Regions from separate parts of the Homo sapiens genome. Here region 1 is linked to region 2. Evidence: promoter capture Hi-C in human tissues and cell types (Jung and others, 2019). All regions are on one chromosome and are shown on one strand. Each heading gives the region's core, a stretch centred on a gene start or on the middle of the fragment in contact. The rest is flanking DNA. Distances are from core to core; before and after follow the strand shown.

The links. Contacts are between HindIII fragments. The study calls those that stand out against the background at their distance.
Region 1: a contact is called between a fragment that was not itself captured here and the fragment with the promoter of ATOH1 in region 2, in 2 of the 25 tissues and cell types used here (H1 embryonic stem cells and hippocampus).

The regions. Positions count from the first base shown.
Region 1 is chr4:94,199,177-94,201,876 of GRCh38, forward strand. The region is part of intron 1 of SMARCAD1-DT (SMARCAD1 divergent transcript); the gene reads right to left. Among named protein-coding and RNA genes, the nearest start is that of SMARCAD1-DT, 7.0 kb to the right of the region's middle. The HindIII fragment of the contact is 3,236 bases long and covers 1-2,700 here.
Region 2 is chr4:93,827,393-93,830,092 of GRCh38, forward strand. ATOH1 (atonal bHLH transcription factor 1) reads left to right here and starts at 1,361. Exons shown (of 1, transcript NM_005172.2): 1 at 1,361-2,700. The coding sequence starts at 1,535. The coding sequence ends at 2,599. RefSeq lists an enhancer at 1-183. The HindIII fragment of the contact is 12,246 bases long and covers 1-2,700 here.

The DNA.
Region 1 (2,700 bases), core at 175-2,674, 370 kb after region 2:
GATTGTGGACATCTTTGTCAGAATTTCTTAATGTGAAGCTCACAGAGCACGAAGCGTTCCATGAGCCCCCTGAAATTATGTGCCACCTGTCATGTGCATATGTAGTTTTTTTTGGAAGGGGTTTGTGACTTTTTAAAATTTGGATTCCTAAGAGAGATTTATAACCATGCCCTCTACCTTCCCAAATTAAGAATCATTACTCTACTTAAAGAAGTATTTGCTTACGAATTGGTAATATTTGGCTTACTTTCTTGTTACCAAGGAAGAAAGTTGTTTTTTAGTTTTATGACTTGGTATCTTGTCTTTTCCATTTTATATTCATGTGTGGGAGGCAAGATTAGTTTACACAAGTTTCCATTACCAACCAGGTGTGGTTTACATTTCTAAGATACCAAGTTAAGAAAGGATCCAAGTTTACAAATCTCATTTTTAATCTCTGTTGCTGTTCGTTTTTTTGTTTGGTTTCTTAATCAATTCAGTTCAATTTTGGAAGGGCTGCTCCTTCCTCAAATTGCTTCATGGTTTTATTTTGGTAAGTATGAAGCAAAAAGAAATAACAATAAAATTCCCACAGTCTTTTCTCCTATTTAAGAAATTTGAGGATTCTATCAAACATTTTCACTGAGCCCATTAAAAACTAACAGGTAATTAAAATGATTCTTGCAGCCATACATAAGTACTTTAATTTAAAAAGTGAATTCTGTGGGGCATGGTGGCTCACACCTGTAATCCCAACACTTTGGGAGGCTGGGGTAAGAGGATTGCTTGAGTCCAGGAGTTCAAAGCCAACCTGGGCAACAGAGCGAGACACCATCTCTAGAAAAAATACAAAAATTAGCTGGATGTGGTGGTGTGCAACATTAGTCCCAGCTACTCAGGGGACTGAGATGGGAGGATCTCCTGAGTCTGGGAAGGTCGAGGCTACAGTGAGCCATGATCACTGTACTCCAGCCTGGGTGAGAGTGAGACCCTGTCTAAAATAATAACAATAATAAAAGAATAGAAAAAGAATAAAAGAAAGGTGAATTCTATCCCCATAGGGACCCTTGAAGCAATATCTTATTCTAACCACATTTGAGTTGCCCTGCTGACAAAATTCTATTTTATGGTCTATATTCTAGGAAGTTTCTCTTAATGGCCATGTTTAATCCCATAAAGCCCTTTAACAAAAATTAGAAATAATGATGCTTTTCTATGATTCAGTAGCTATTTCTAAAGAAGAGATGCCTTTAATCTCATTTACACTCCTGAGAAAGAAGAATTAGACACTATTGTGGGAAATAATTATTCTGTAAAAGAAGATAGAGAAAATGTAAGGACACAAAGTATATTAAAAGGTGATTTTTAGACTGAACTACTCAAAACTTGACAAAAAGAGCATAAGATTTTCAGGCAGTTTTTGAGTATAGGGATTTTAAGATAGAAAAAAGAAAACATTTTAATTTTAACTGGAAGAATTGGTACACTCAAGACAAAAATGTAGAAAATATTTGGATATGTTTCAATTATCTAATACTGCATGACAAACTACTCCCAAAATTTAGTGGCTTAGAACAATAGCCATTTTTTTATATCTCATGATTTTGTAAATGAGCCAGGCTTGCTAAGTAATTCCAATTTATAGTTTTTTTCTCATTTGCTAGTTGGAATACTTTTATAAAGAGACACTTTCCCTTACCTCTTCTTCAATTATCTAGTAGAAGCCTTCAAAGAGTAAAGACAGGATAAAGCTTAATTCTTTCCATCTGTTTATCAGTTTTCACGATAATAAATTGTTTTCCTTTCATCCTCCAAAGTCAACCAGTTTAAAAAAAAATCAGTAAGAACTCCTGGATTTCAACATATTTGATGGCTTTCAAATCACTGCAATTTTTAATCACATTGAAGCTCAAACTGCCCCATCTTTGGCCAGTAGGAACCTCAAGTTGACCTCTGAATCTTTTTGACATGGTATTAGTGGTCTTTGATAATTTCCTTGCTTTTTGGTATAGGAAGATATTTCAGTCTCACCTTGTGCATTTTCCATTGCATACTGTAATCTGCTCTTTTTCAAAGAAGTCCAGGTTTCTGTTAGCAGTAAATGATATTCAAAGATTATGATCATGGTACTAGGGCTGTGTACTGGGCTAGTCACTTCCTAGGCCTTTTCGGTGGACAAAGATGGAAAACAAACACACATTGTGTCTGTGTGTGTATCACATCTCATAAGTTCATATTGATATTTCCAATTCAAATAAAAGACCATTCCACTTGCGCTGTAGGGTTTGTACTATAACCTCTCTCTATTATATCTCTGTTTCCTTTCTTCTACTCTGAGAATTGTGGTTCTCGAAAAAAAAAGAAATAATTAGAATATAATTATTAATTTGTTTTACCCAACAATATACACACATTGGTCTCAGGATAGCAACACTAAATACACTTCAACTGTTTTACTGAAAACCAGTTAAACATTTTTTTCATATGTTCCTATCATTCTTTGCCTTTTAGGAGGTGAACATTGACAGATCATATAACCATTATAAACTGTACTGTCTTTCTTTTAAACATCATATTATCTTTGTTCTGCAATAGTTAATGCTCAATACATATCCTTACAACATTGTCTCTATAGACATTTTGGTTTTGTGAAGCTTATTCTCTGATAGATACCTCAGTAGTACTCATGGAAACAATACCCACAGAATTCTTACCTGATGT
Region 2 (2,700 bases), core at 111-2,610:
ACTCCCGCGCCCCAGGGGCGGTGCAGGAGAGCGCCCGGAGCCAGAGCCAGGGCGCGCTGGGCGCAAGCTGGGGCGCGCCCAGGGCCAATGAGCTTCTGATTGGCTCTTTGCTGTGAATAGACTAGGCCGAGGCTAATAGGACCGGAGGGGGCGTTCACCTGGGAATTGGCCTCCCCCCCTTGCCAAGGACCTCCCTGATTGTATGGGGCGGAGTGGGGTGGGGGTGGGGGCTGGAAAGGGGAAGCCCACCCTAACTAAACGGAGGGGCGGGAGGAGGTTAAACTGAGGAAGCCACGAGCCCGCAGTAAAGAGAGGGCGATCGAGGCAAAAGGGTAGGTAACTTGGGACTTCTGTGCCTTGAAAGTGTTAAGGATTGCAGGGAATGCAGGCGCCTTTCATTTTACTTTGGGCACCCTCCCCTGGCTGGGCATTTAATGAGGAGTCCTACTGTGTGTGTTGAAACTCTGCATAATACCGTAAAATATTCTGGCCCTAAATTACACTCAACGGAGAGATTTAGGCAGATTACAATCCTAATTGGCCGCAGGGTGCTGGGGAAAGGGGACAGAGAGAATTGGGGGATCTGGAATTTGGTGTGCTATCACTACACCGCAGCTCTATTTTCCATTAAGAAAAAGATCATATGACGAAGTCGAACTAAGAGATCTGAAGTAAAAAATGAAAAGATGGAGCAAAAGTAAGAAACATACTCTGAGACGAGTGGGTTTTCCCCCTTTATTCCAACAGCAATCTTAAATGATGGACGTCATGTAGCAGTTATATATCTATGAACATGCATGAGAGATTTATAAATACCTGCATACATAAATACAAACATCCTATTATACATGAGAAATCGTAAATGCTTGGGCATCAGAAGTGGGAGCTGTGATCCTAGCTTGGGGGCAGCACAGGGTAGGCGGCCTTCTCTCTGCTTTGAGTGGCTTCTGGGCGCCTGGCGGGTCCAGAATCGCCCAGAGCCGCCCGCGGTCGTGCACATCTGACCCGAGTCAGCTTGGGCACCAGCCGAGAGCCGGCTCCGCACCGCTCCCGCACCCCAGCCGCCGGGGTGGTGACACACACCGGAGTCGAATTACAGCCCTGCAATTAACATATGAATCTGACGAATTTAAAAGAAGGAAAAAAAAAAAAAAACCTGAGCAGGCTTGGGAGTCCTCTGCACACAAGAACTTTTCTCGGGGTGTAAAAACTCTTTGATTGGCTGCTCGCACGCGCCTGCCCGCGCCCTCCATTGGCTGAGAAGACACGCGACCGGCGCGAGGAGGGGGTTGGGAGAGGAGCGGGGGGAGACTGAGTGGCGCGTGCCGCTTTTTAAAGGGGCGCAGCGCCTTCAGCAACCGGAGAAGCATAGTTGCACGCGACCTGGTGTGTGATCTCCGAGTGGGTGGGGGAGGGTCGAGGAGGGAAAAAAAAATAAGACGTTGCAGAAGAGACCCGGAAAGGGCCTTTTTTTTGGTTGAGCTGGTGTCCCAGTGCTGCCTCCGATCCTGAGCCTCCGAGCCTTTGCAGTGCAATGTCCCGCCTGCTGCATGCAGAAGAGTGGGCTGAAGTGAAGGAGTTGGGAGACCACCATCGCCAGCCCCAGCCGCATCATCTCCCGCAACCGCCGCCGCCGCCGCAGCCACCTGCAACTTTGCAGGCGAGAGAGCATCCCGTCTACCCGCCTGAGCTGTCCCTCCTGGACAGCACCGACCCACGCGCCTGGCTGGCTCCCACTTTGCAGGGCATCTGCACGGCACGCGCCGCCCAGTATTTGCTACATTCCCCGGAGCTGGGTGCCTCAGAGGCCGCTGCGCCCCGGGACGAGGTGGACGGCCGGGGGGAGCTGGTAAGGAGGAGCAGCGGCGGTGCCAGCAGCAGCAAGAGCCCCGGGCCGGTGAAAGTGCGGGAACAGCTGTGCAAGCTGAAAGGCGGGGTGGTGGTAGACGAGCTGGGCTGCAGCCGCCAACGGGCCCCTTCCAGCAAACAGGTGAATGGGGTGCAGAAGCAGAGACGGCTAGCAGCCAACGCCAGGGAGCGGCGCAGGATGCATGGGCTGAACCACGCCTTCGACCAGCTGCGCAATGTTATCCCGTCGTTCAACAACGACAAGAAGCTGTCCAAATATGAGACCCTGCAGATGGCCCAAATCTACATCAACGCCTTGTCCGAGCTGCTACAAACGCCCAGCGGAGGGGAACAGCCACCGCCGCCTCCAGCCTCCTGCAAAAGCGACCACCACCACCTTCGCACCGCGGCCTCCTATGAAGGGGGCGCGGGCAACGCGACCGCAGCTGGGGCTCAGCAGGCTTCCGGAGGGAGCCAGCGGCCGACCCCGCCCGGGAGTTGCCGGACTCGCTTCTCAGCCCCAGCTTCTGCGGGAGGGTACTCGGTGCAGCTGGACGCTCTGCACTTCTCGACTTTCGAGGACAGCGCCCTGACAGCGATGATGGCGCAAAAGAATTTGTCTCCTTCTCTCCCCGGGAGCATCTTGCAGCCAGTGCAGGAGGAAAACAGCAAAACTTCGCCTCGGTCCCACAGAAGCGACGGGGAATTTTCCCCCCATTCCCATTACAGTGACTCGGATGAGGCAAGTTAGGAAGGTGACAGAAGCCTGAAAACTGAGACAGAAACAAAACTGCCCTTTCCCAGTGCGCGGGAAGCCCCGCGGTTAAAGATCCCCGCACCCTTTAATTTTTG